2 separate regions of the Homo sapiens genome follow, and region 2 is linked to region 1. Evidence: promoter capture Hi-C in 16 types of primary human blood cells and fetal thymus (Javierre and others, 2016). All regions are on one chromosome and are shown on one strand. The core of a region is centred on a gene start or on the middle of the fragment in contact, and the rest is flanking DNA. Distances in the headings are between cores, read along the strand shown. Region 1 holds the start of DNAJA4-DT (DNAJA4 divergent transcript). Region 2 holds the start of ADAMTS7 (ADAM metallopeptidase with thrombospondin type 1 motif 7).

Region 1 (6,366 bases), core at 2,471-4,970:
GGCTTTGAAGACTACGTAACAACTTGGGAAAAGTACTTATAATAAAATATTAAGTGGAAACAAGAAAACAAAATGTCTATGTATCAGGATGGCCATGTATGATCATACTGGGGAAAGCTTGGAAAGAAGCACAGAGTGGTTAGGATAATGTGTACTTGGTAGGTTTCCCTCTGTGTTCTAAAATTTTCTGCATGGTTTGCTATGTTCTGATTTTTGAACTTGAAAGTCTATTATTCAAACTAAAAGTTACAATGAAATTGACCAAAAGACCAAACTCATCTCAACAGGGTAATAGCCAAGAATATACCCCACATCATTGCCCCTAAAAGGGACTATCTTGGTGACCCACTACCTACCACCCATGCATCTTGCAAAAAAAACAAAAAACAAAAAAAAAACACCCGCAGAGAAGTACAGACTCCATACAGAGTGCCCAAAAAACACAAGGTGCCCCAATGCTTAGCAACAGGGGACAACAGGGCAAAAAACAAAGACCAACATTTCAACGGCCTTCTCAGTTTTCCCAGCAAGGGGTAAAGAACTGGTGTAGTCTATTTTTGAAGAGACGTTAATAATACAGTGACGAACTTAGGAGGAAAAAAAAATTTAAAGGTTCTACCTGTGATAAAGTGGAAAAGAACTACACACACATACACACTCACATACACACTCACACACACACTCACACACTCACACACTCACATACACACTCACACACACACTCACATACACACTCACAAAAGGCCTGCACAGTGCACCCAGCACACAGTGGGGACCAGAAGAGGAGGTATTTGTTGAATGAATGAATGAATGAATGAATGAGCTCTCTCTGGGGAACTCTACAGCCGTTTCTATAAATTGTGTCCCCAGTCTCCTCATCCTCTTTGATTTCCGATCTAAATTGCCACTCTCCTCCCAATATCCCTTTCACTGCAATTTCCCTTCCAATTTGTGCCTTTATAGGGCCCTCTCCTCCTACACACAATTTTTTAAAGTGCATTTACTCAGCCAGCTAACAAACATTTTAGCACCTACCCTGCACAGCTAGATACTCACCCCATAAGTGGCCATGGGGGCACAGTCACTGCCCTGCTTACATTATGGCAGGTAATACAGTTATCAAACAAGTAATCACCATTAAAGGAATACAGTTAATCAAACAAGTAATCACCATTAAAGTAGGATGCACGTTGGGCCTGTGGTTCAGTCTATGAGGCAGAGGCAGCCTCCTGGAAGATGTTTTAGCTGAGAACTAAAGAGTTTTATCCCCTTCCATGAAGGTAGAGGAAGGAAAGTATTCCTGGCAATGGGCACATCACAGAACCCTTCCCTCCAAGCTGATGGGCCTGCCAGACCTCACTGCCAAGGGCCTCATTTATGTGACACTAACTCAGTGCCTGGCTATGAATAAATATTAGTTTAAAACAAACCAAACAACCTGCCCAGACAGGTATAGACAGGGTGAAACCTACACATATGTAGTACAGGTCAAGTCTAATTTTTTAAAAATAAAAGCTTCAGAACAAAAGCATATTCAGCTCTAACTGTATACACAGAGGCATGAACTTACTCTTGTGAGTGCTGAGATTTGACCTGAATCCAGGGTCAGGCTTTCCCACATGTCTTTAGCCAGCTTGCTGAAATGTGAAATTAGAAGCCTACAAGCTCTCCTTAAAGGAGACTGTCAGAAGCGGACCACAATGAATGTAGGGAGCAGGTGGATGAATCACCAGCACCATGTAAAACGCCAGTGCCTTTAAAAGCTACAGTAAGCCATCTAAATATAGATGAGAAAGAACGCAAGTGAGTAACAGACAAATGGTCTTACAGGAAAGCATTTTAAACTTGTGACAGCCACATTCAGCACATGTGGCTAAATATAAATATTCCATCACTGTTGCCATTCAGCCAACCGTCCTGAAGTAGCTTTCTCCAGCTTGGAACAACTAACACAGACAGGTATTTTGATTCCAGCGTCGTTTCCACAGGTCTTAAATGCTACATGGGTGATTGGTGTGGTTTCAAACGTGGCCCAAGTGACACTGCTATCAGCTACTATAACGGCCCCACCTCTCAAGACCCATGCGGAACAACCAAAGTTTTGTAAGAAAATGGCAAGAAGTGAAAGGAGGAACGGGAGGGTTAGCAGCCTTTCCTTGCAATGCCTCATCCTTCAATTCACCTATTCAGGTGGGTCATGAGCCTCTTTAGAGATAAAAAGCAAACTTTCTGTAAACAGGATGGAAAAGCTTTTAACTTCTGTCTCTAAAATGCAGAGCATTTTCAGTCTATGATTGGTACTTATGATCAACTGTGTGTCACTTGTCACCGAAAACCCAGAATATGAGTACAAGCTGATGTCAGGTTGCAGATGTCCGTGTCCCTGTTTAATAAAGAAAATGGGATTATTCACTATCTGACGCTTTTATCAGGTAGGCAGTAGGTGCACAGAACAAATCCAGCTAGTCATTCTCAAGAGAGGCACGGCGTTTGTCCAAGGTACCAGCTCAGATTAAAGACACTCATCCCTAGGGTTTATGCATCAACAGAGAATATGAGCCAGTCGTTCCCAGCAAGTAAACAACTGTTTGTGTGTGCCTCAGTTTCCCGATTCCCAGGCCGCCTCTCCCACAGGGAACCAACACACCCTATGAGAACTAGTCCGGCGCGCACGGCAGGGGCTACCCAAACACTTGTGGAGCGAATGGAGGAATGAATGGGCTCGGCAGGGACTCGCGAGGGACCCAAGTGCCGCACCACATGCCTCCTCCGCGGGCGAAGCGCCCTCCACCGACCGCGCCGCACGGCGCCCAGGGTCTCCCGCCACCTCTGCCCGGCCTGGCCCCGAGGCGCCTGGCGACAGCCTCCCCAACAAACGCGGCTCAGGTTTCCCGTCGCCTTCAATGCTCCTGGCTTAATAACCCTTGGCCCCTCGGGAGCCCGGCCCGTGCCCCGCGCCGCCCCGCACCTTCTCGCCCTCATCCGGGTTCTTGTCCGGGTGGTACTTGAGCGCCAGCTTCCGATAGGCCTTCTTGATCTCCTCCGGGGACGCGCTGGGCTTCACGCCCAGGATGTCATAGTACTGGGTCTCCTTCACCATCTTGTGTCTGCGGGGGGGGCGGGCGAGGCCGGTCAGAGCGCCCCGGACGCCCCTGCCGGCACCCTGGCCCGCGCCCCTGGCCCGCGCCCCCGCCGCCCGCTCGCGCGTCACGGTCACGGTCGCCGCCGCCGCCGCCGCTTGTAGCTCCCGCCCGCCCCCCGCCCCGCGCCGGACCGACTTCCACGCCTGGCTCCACCGCACTAGAGCCACCGGCTCCTCCGCGGCGGGTTTTATTCGGCGCCGGCGGAAGCTTCCGCAAGGAGACGGTGACGCCACAAAGGCCTAGAACCTTCGCGGAGGTTCCGGCGGCCCCGCGGCGGGTTCGCGGCCCAGACCCCCGACGCCCGTCCGGCGCGGCCCAGCCGCTCACCTGGGCTTCTCGGGCGTCTGCTCCTTTGGCTGCCCGTCTGATTCCCCGGAGCTCCAGCTCTGACTGCCGCCCCGGGCCATGGCGGGGGCCGGAGAAGGCGGCTTGGGCCTGGAGGGCGCCCTCCGACAACTGTCCCGCCGCCCCGAGGCCGCCCCCTTGCCCTTCCGTGGGTCCGTGGAGCCGGCTGGCTGGAGAGTAGGCGGCCTGGAGGGCTGTGTTGGCCGGAGCCCTGCGCCGAAGGGTGGGACTGGGAGAGCTGCGCCCTGCGGTCCCCACCCGGCCTCTCCCCGGGGGTGTGGCCGCCGTCTGTTCGGTCACAGCCAGGCTGCGGCCTAAGGTGTGCCTGGGATTGTTGCATTTTTTAGGGGGTTGGAGTGGGTAGGGGCCCTCTGCTGCCTCATGACTGCAAGGCTGAGGTGAACCTCTGGCCTTCCAGTTGAGGTACAGGGGTCCTTTGCTGGCCCCAGATGTGGACAGTATCCTCTCGAATGCCCACCACTGGGAACCCTTAAGTCCCTCAAGGTGAGCAGTGACGTCCCCCACATATGGGCAGTGACGCCCCCCAAGTCTGCCAAGGGCCGACAGTGCCCTCTCTTCTCCCAGAAGTGGGAAACTGCCCCCTCTCCTCTGCACATCATCAGTGAGCAAACATCAGGGCCCGACCAGGCTGTTGGGCCCAGTGTTATGCACAGGGGGTCCCATGGCCTGGACCCTGAAACGGCTAGGTGGCCCAGGATGCTTGCCTTGGAAGGGTACAGGAGTAGGTCCCGACTTCCCTAGGCTGCCCCCAGCTCCCAACGGGTGCTCAGGGAGTCCAGATCACAAACCGTTGCAGAAAAGTGGGCGTGGAAAGCAGGCCCCAACGCTATCACAGAATTGCAGGCCCCTGTCCCCTAGCCCTCCCTTGGCTTCTGCCAGGGGAACAGTTTGTCAGAAAGGGGGGTCACTGCTCACCTCCCTGGGATGCCCTGGCCTTGTTTTGGGTACTGTGGCTGAAGCAGGTACTACCTCTCCTCCATGTGTTCCATGGGGGTGAGAAGTGACTTGTACTGTACAAGAGAAATTAAGCTGCTCTTCTTGGAGATGTTGCTTTTTTTTTTTTTAAATTATGCCTTGTAGAGCAGAACCTTTAGGCAGAGAACTCAGAGCTAGAGGTCAGAAACTTTGTTTTCTATCCAGATCTTACTGTCTGAGCCTTAGCATCTCAACACTTTTCTTCGTCAGCAGGACATGGGGATTGCCACTTGCCTGCCTTTCTCACAGGGCTCTTATAAGCATCAAATGGGATGATAACTGTGAAGACTCCTAGCGCAGTGGGTCTCAAACCTGGCTCCTGACAGAGATCACCTGGAATCTTCTAAAAATCCCTCTGGGTTGCACTCCACACCTGTTACCTTAGAGCTTCTAGGGGTGAGGCCCAGGCATCAGTGTTTTTCAAGCTCCCCAGGTGGTACAGCCAGAGCCGAGATCCACTGCCCAGGGTCACATACTTGTCCAGATTTAGTACTCGGGACCATAGGCATTCGTAAAATGGGCATGTGCAGGAGAGGGATGGCTTAAAGACAGAGCCTAGAAACATAGAATGGAGCTATGCACTTTGGACGACAGTGAATTCTGGAACCAGTGAGACTTAGACCTAGGTTCAAATCCCAGCACTGCTACTTCTGGCTGTGGAACCTTGGGCAGACAACTTAACCTTTCTGAGCCTCAGTTTTCTTAACCTTTTAATGAGGATATTAATTATAACTACTTCATAACTTTGTGAAACACCTGGTATATAGTCACAATATTGATGCTTTTTGGGGGTGGGGGGGTGCGGGCAGGGGCTAAGGTATAGAAGCTGATAGTGATTCTCTTCTTGATGGAACTTAGCCAGGCTCCTATGAGCCCTCTTCTCAACTAGGCTTCAGTCTTGGCCTATAAAGACTGAACAGACAGCAACACAGTTTCTAATAATTCAACGTCACATCCTTAAGATCACCAGTTCCCAGGCTTTTTGGCACCAGAGACCAGTTTCATGGAAGACGATTTTGTCACGGACAGGGTGGTGGGGGTGGGCAATAATTCTATGATGAAGGCCTGGCGTGGTGGCTCACACCTGTAATCCCAGCACTTTGGGACGCCGAGGTGGGCAGATCACTTGAGGCCACGAGTTCAAGACCAGTCTGGCCAACTTGGTGAAACTCCATCTCTACTAAAAATACAAAAATTAGCCAGGGATGGTGGTGCTCGCCTGTAATCCCAGCTACTCAGGAGGCTGAGGCACAAGAATCGCTTGAACCCGGGAGGCAGAGGCTGCAGTGAGCTGAGATCACACCACTGCACTCCAGCCTGGGTGACAGAGCAAGACTCTGTCTCAAAAAATAAAAAATAAATAACAATAGGATTGTCTAGTAAAATCAGATATTTTTGGCCAGGTGTGGTGGCTCAGGCCTGTAATCCCAGCACTTTGGGAGGTCGAAGTGGGCAGATCACTTGAGCTCAAGAGTTTGAGACCAGCCTGGCCAACATGGTGAAACCCCGTCTCTACTAAAAATACAAAAATTAGCCAGGTGTGGTGGCACGTGCCTGTAATCCCAGCTACTCAGGAGGCTGAAATAGGAGAATCACTTAAACCCGGGAGGCAGAGGTTGCAGTGAGCTGAGACTGTGCTACTGCATGCCAGCCTGGGCAACAGAGAAAGACTCTATCTCAAAAAAGAAAAAAAAATGGAGGATGAAACTGTTCCACCTTAGATCATCAGGCGTTAGATTCTTATAAGGAGCATGCAACCTAGATCCCCCGCATGCACAGTTCACAGCAGATTTCAAGCTCCTGTGAGAATCTAATGCCACTGCTTGGTTCCTGACAGGCCACAGACCAGTACTGGTCCGCAGCCTAGGAGTTGGGGGCCCCT
Region 2 (6,112 bases), core at 1-2,500, 550 kb before region 1:
GAAGTAGGTGAAGCCAGGAGGGGCTGGTAGGTTGGGCGAAGAGGAAGGTATCAAGGGACTGGAGGAAGAGCAATACATAGTGGGACTGTGAAGGTGGAAAGGACTGCAGAGTCGGGTCTGACAGGGGGGCACCTGAGCTTCGGATTTCCAAGATGGAGCAGTTCTGAGGGATGACACAGCCCAGGCTTTGGCCCTGAGACCTGATGGCTGAGGTGGAGTGGAAGGTCACTGGAGATGAGATGGAGGAAGTAGGTGACCCTGTACTACACAAATTCCCTAGAGGACAGACAGGTTGAGGGTGGAGAGGAAGCCAGAAGTGAGCTTCCAGGAATTGAATGAAAGGGCCCAGGAGATTGGACAATGAGGAGGTGTGCGGGCCTCAGAGGGCAGGGGGCACACAAAGACTAACCAAGGGGAGGAAGCTGACCGCAACCGCCCCGAGGACAAGACGGGCGTCCTCGGTACAGGGCCATGTTTAGTGACGGCAGAAGGGAGAAAGGAAGCTCCTGGGAGCACAGGGGGAAGGGGAGCCGGAAGCCAGAGCCAGGGCTGGGGCCACGAAGGACAGACGGCCGGTGTTGGAGGCGGAGGCTGGCCTGGGATGTGAGGCTGGGGTTGGCCGGCCTCCAGGCTCCCCGGGAGCCCCTGCTGAAAGTCTGTGGGCGCTGGCCTGGGCGAAGCCGCGGTCCCCCGCCTGTGGGCTCAACTCTGCGCTCTGCTTCAAGCAAACGCACTAGGAGAGGAGTCAGGAGACGAGGAACTGCGGGGCCCCACCTCGCGCGGGCAACCGCTGTCTGTCCAGGGAGGGCCCAGGCCTGTCTCCGCAGATAGCTTTGAAGCAGGGCCCCCGGTGTGGCCCTCTGGAGGCCTCCCGCGTCCCCTTTTGAGGGGCTGCCCTGCTTGGCCTGGGGAACACAGCGAAGGGCACCTCGTGGAGCCCAATTTAGGGACAACACATTAATTCTGGAAATTCCAGATTCTTTCCGGGGGTCCTCAACCGGCCGGGGTCGGAAAGGCCTGGCAGGGCTCCGCCGGCAGGGGGCGCTCGGGACAGGGGGGCGAGGGGGGCGGACATCCGTTGCGGGGCGCTGCCTGCGCCGGGCCGGCCAGCCCTTGAGGCGAGCACGGCCTGCGGGGCCGATGAGGCCGGGGCCGGCCGGGGCGGGGCGGGGCCAGGGGCGGGGGAAGGAGTCCGAGGGGCGGGGCGGGGGCCGGCAGCCGCCCTCCCTCACTCTCCCTCCCTTTCTTTCTTTCTTTCTTTCTCTCCTTCTAGCTCTCTTGTCTTTTCTTTGCCTCTGCAGCGGCCAAGGGGGCGGGCCCTGCAGCCTTTGTTGCCCGCGGACCGAGCGCAGCCGAACGGAGTCGGGGCCGGGTCGCCGGGAGCTGCACGCCGGCCGGGCATGTCCTGAGCCGGACCTGGGACCAGGCAGCGACCGGACGGGACGGACGAGAGCGTGCGCGCGGGGTCACCCGGCGGCCGCCCGGTTCCTGCCATGCCCGGCGGCCCCAGTCCCCGCAGCCCCGCGCCTTTGCTGCGCCCCCTCCTCCTGCTCCTCTGCGCTCTGGCTCCCGGCGCCCCCGGACCCGCACCAGGTGGGTGTCCGCCCCTCCCCGGCCAGCCGGGCCTGCCACCCCTTCCCGCTCCCCCAGTCTCGGTTTTGTCCCTCCTCACCTTTGTGGACCCCGCGCCGGCTCCGCTGTGCCTGGAGTTGGTCGCGTCTTCCGCTCCCTGGGTATTAGGGGACAGTAGTCGGGGTCGGGCCGGGCCGGGAGCGAAGCCGCGCTTCTGGGGAAACTTCCTCGGCCCCTGATTCAGTTACTGACACTGCCTGTCGCCTGGAATAAGCCCCTTCCGCTCTTCGGGCTCCGGTTTCCCCACCTCGGGTGCAGCAACGCGCCTGGCTCCCGGGAGAGCTCTCGTCCGAGTGGGCTGGACGGAGCGCGGTTTACCCACTGAGGATTTGGTTTCTCACACTCCTTAGCGAGGCTCGCCTGGAAAGCGGGCTGGCCGGGACACAGCCGGCGAGGGCGCCAGGTCGCAGGTCTTCGCGGGACCCCGCCGCCCCCCCAGCTCCCGCCCACCGCATCTGGGCTGCTGGCGCGGCCCCTGGCGGCTCGGGGGGCCGGGTCTTGCGCGGTCCTTGCACTTCCTGCCTCTCCCTTCCCCAAGTGTGAAGACGCCGGGAGTGGAGCGGGGAGCAGGAGCTTCTTTTCCCGGCCATGGGTTAACTCTCCCCGCCCCGCCGGGCCGGCCTCCGACGAGCCTCTGGCCTGCGTCCAGACTCTTGTTTGGCGGCGACCTGCCGGGCGGCCGCGCTGCTGGCGCGTCCGACGCAGCCGGCCTGGGAATTCAGTAACCGAGGATGTAGGAGACCCCAGGCCCGGTGCTCAGGGAGCTCCCAGTCAGGGGAGCCGGTGGATAGTGGGGAGAGTCCTGCAATAGAGCCGACCGGCAGGCTTTGTAGGAGAGGAGGGGCATGAGGTTGGAGAGACTGGAAGGATGGATGGATTCTGGATGAGCTAGAAGGGCGTGGAGGGAGTGGGGCCCTCCCCTGGGGAGCATCAGTCGGGGGACTGGATTAGGGTTGCTTGCTGGGATGGGGTCGACCTGCCTCCCCACTGGAGGGATTGTGACGAGAAAGTAGTCTGGGCGGGAAGGATGGGGACATTGACTCTTGATCTTAGAGGTTTGGGAAGCCGTTGAGGGGAGCAGCTGATGAAAGCAGTGTTTTGGAAAGATTTGGTCTAGCAGCCATGCGCAGAGCGCAGAGGGAGCGAACATTTAATGAGCACCTACTGTGTGCCAGCCTCACGGGTTCTTATTTCTCATCATCTCCACAACAACCGTGCAAAGCAAGTGATGGAAAGTCCTTTTATGGACCAGCAAACAGGCTCAGAGTAGAGCGACCTGTGGGGTTGGACTCCTGAGCTTCCTGAATGAGGCTTGTGTTTTCCACTGTCCAGAGCTGGGGGCTGAGGAGGATGAACCGGGCGATGGGAATGGGAGAGCAGGAAAATGCTTCCCTCAGGACTTGGGTCCTGGCCCCCTGGCAGCTGTGGGAAGAGTTGGGTGCGGTCAACCTCGTGGGATTCTTATGAGGATTAAATGAGATATTGAATATGTCAGTTGCTCAGGCAGGACACAGTGACTACAATGTAGTGGTCATTATTTTTATTAATCTGCCAGGCCGACCCAGGACTCCCCAGATGACCTGGACCTGCTGTTTGAGGGTGGAGGCAGGCCAGGCACTCTCTCCAACCTAATCTGGGCACAAACACTCCAAGGGTGAAGTCTGTCTCTAGTGTTCCCATAGATATAGAGCATGGGGTCCTTCCTGTTCTGCACTCCCTCAGGATTGGTGACTCTGAGGCTGCTGGCCTGTTTGTCATTTTCTTTGAAGCCCAGGACCTAAGCCTGGGGCTCCTCCTACCACTGAATGTTACCTTCTTTAAGACCAAAGGGCTCATCCTGGGCTCACTTTTAGGAAAATATATCCCTTTTCCCCACTTGTGACTGACCCAGGGACCTGCTAGGGTTTCTGAGGCTGGAGCCCAGTCATGTGTCCTCCTCATGCCGTATGGCACATGTGAACTCTGTGTGCATGTGTTTCTGTGCATACTAGAACTCACAGAGGAGGGCATTCACATACTACCCCCCACCCTGCCAGTTATTTTTCCTCCTTGGCATGAGCTGTGGGTCATTTGAAGGGCTGGATTGTAACTCAGGTTCTTGATAGGGAGGTGAGGGTAAACACCATCTTGGCATTTCTTTGGTAGAAGCTCCAAAGTGACAGTTCTGTCACCCAGGGGAGATATTAAAAGTATTTAACACCCAATGTGGCAGGAGCTTGGTCCAATCAGAACAGACCTCCTGACTTGGCAGAATAGATTTGGCCATGAATCTCTGGCAGTCCTCTTGAATGGTGCCTGTTGCCATCCCACTGTCACTTGAACTCTGCAGGCTCAGCTTTGTTGCAAGCACATAACCGGTCGAGACTGGAACCTGCAATTACTCCTTGCTGGCACTGGGTGGTGCTAGTTTCAGCCACCAACATCTCTACTGAGTGAGGTCAACTAGGCTACAGTGAAAGTTACTTATTTTTAAACTTACCCCTGCACTTTTTAAAAATATTTTAATGGCAAAACAATACAAGTTCACTATAAAAAAAGGTAATGCTGGCGGGCTGCAGTGGCTCATGCTTGTAATCCCAGCACTTTGGGAAGCTGAGGCTGGCGGATCACTTGAGGCCAGGAGTTCGAAACCAGCCTGGCCAACATGGTGAAACTCCATCTCTATTAAAATACAAAAATTAGCTGGACATGGTGGTGCATGCCTGTAATCCCAGCTCCTCGGAAGGCTGAGGCATGAGAATTGCTTGAACCCAGGAGGCAGAGGTTGCGGTGAGCCGAGATCGCACCACTGCATTCTAGCCTGGGTGACACAGGGAGACTGTCTCAAAAGAAAAAATCTGAACAAAACAAGAAAAAAATTATTGCAATAAAAGTGGCAACATCCTGTAAGTCTATTCTTTTATTGTTGATTGAAAAACATGTTTTAGACCAGACACAGTGATTCACACCTGTAATTCCAGCACTTTGGGAGGCCAAGGTAGGCAGATCGTTTGAGCCCAGAAATTCAAGACCAGCCTGGGCAGCATAATGAGACCCCATCTCTACAAAAAAATTTAAAAATTATCCAGGCCTGGTAGTCCACGCCTGTAGTCCCAGCTATTTGGGAGGCTGAGGTGGGAGGATTGCATGAGCCCAGGAGGTCAAGGCTGCAGTAAACCACGATCGCATCACTGCACTCCAGCCTGGGAGATCTCAGAAAAAAAAAAAAGAAATAAATAAATAAAAACATGTTTTTTGTTTTGTTTTGTTTTGTTTGTTTTTAAGCCATTAGGCAAACAGATAAAACAACAAGTTTTTAAAAGAAAAAGCTAAATATACTTTAGAAGTTCTCTTGCTAATTTTCAGTCATAACTTAGCTCACATTTGCTATGTGCCAGCTGTTGTTATAAGCACTTACATACTAACTCATTTAATTCTTACACAACCAAAGAGAGCAGCTGTAATTATTATCATCCCCATTTTACAGATGGAGAAACTGAGATTCTGAGTGGTTGAGTAATTTACCCATGGTCTCACAGATATGGGTAGCAGAGCTGGGATTCAAACACAGCCTCTCTGGCTCTAGAGCTCACTAATCCGAATGCTTTTCACCTGCGGCATAGCTCTACTTAGCCCTGTCCACATTTTTGAACTTAATAGGATGCTTCTTTGTAAGTCATCTGGAATTTCTGTCTTGCAATATTTGCCCAGGATCTACAGCAGGTATTCTCAACAGGACTGTACATCCGCTGGGGCATGGGTTCTTCCCCAGAGATACTTTATTTTTTTTAAGCTTTTGGGGCCTTTTCTCCCCAGTGGTTGATTCCTCAGTTACATACCTGCTTCCATTCCCCAACCACATGCATTTGAGGACAAAACTTGCCTAAAAGAGTGTCATGTAGCTCCCCCAGTTGAGAATTTTAGAGCTGGTTGGCATCAGTGCCCCCCTGACCTTCAGCTCATCTTTAGCTGCCTTGGCTGGGATTGTCCTTGCCCTGGGAACCAACGTTAATACTCACTTAAAACAAGTGTTGGAGGGTGGGCATGGTGGCCCATGCCTGTAATCCCAGTACTTTGGGAGGCTGAGGCGGGTGGATCACCTGAGGTCAGGAGTTCGAGACCAGCCTGGCCAACATGGCGAAACTCTACCTCTACTAAAAATACAAAAATTAGTTGGGCATGGTGGCTTGCACCTGTAATTACAGCTACTTGGGAGGCTGAGGCAGGAGAATTGCTTGAACCCAGCAGCCGGAGGTTGCAGTGAGCCAAGATCATGCAATTGTACTCCAGCCTGGGGGACAAGAACGAAACTCTCTCTCAAAAAAACAAAAACATAAACAAAACAAAACAAAAACAAGCCTTGGAGTTGTAGCCTCCACGAACTGTGATCCTTGGGAAAGTTAGGAAATCTCCCACTGCGAGTGAACCTGGGAAGTAGTTCTTCCCTATCTCTGTCATTTTCGTCTCCTTGACCTGGGCTCCCTTCCTTACGTTTTCTGGC

The links. Contacts are between HindIII fragments. The CHiCAGO score rates a contact against its expected background, and 5 or more counts as called.
Region 2: the fragment with the promoter of ADAMTS7 here is called in contact with the fragment with the promoter of DNAJA4-DT in region 1 in 1 of 17 cell types (M0 macrophages); the score reaches 5.8 in M0 macrophages.

What each region holds. Positions count from the first base shown.
Region 1 is chr15:78,261,498-78,267,863 of GRCh38, reverse strand. DNAJA4-DT (DNAJA4 divergent transcript) reads left to right here and starts at 3,720. Exons shown (of 4, transcript XR_001751621.1): 1 at 3,720-3,807; 2 at 3,907-3,992. DNAJA4 (DnaJ heat shock protein family (Hsp40) member A4) reads right to left here and starts at 3,302. Exons shown (of 7, transcript NM_001130182.2): 1 at 2,969-3,302. The coding sequence starts at 3,100. RefSeq lists silencers at 2,769-3,058, 3,369-3,448. The HindIII fragment of the contact is 6,233 bases long and covers 3,353-6,366 here.
Region 2 is chr15:78,806,602-78,812,713 of GRCh38, reverse strand. ADAMTS7 (ADAM metallopeptidase with thrombospondin type 1 motif 7) reads left to right here and starts at 1,250. Exons shown (of 24, transcript NM_014272.5): 1 at 1,250-1,593. The coding sequence starts at 1,494. RefSeq lists a silencer at 803-1,222. The HindIII fragment of the contact is 7,795 bases long and covers 1-5,406 here.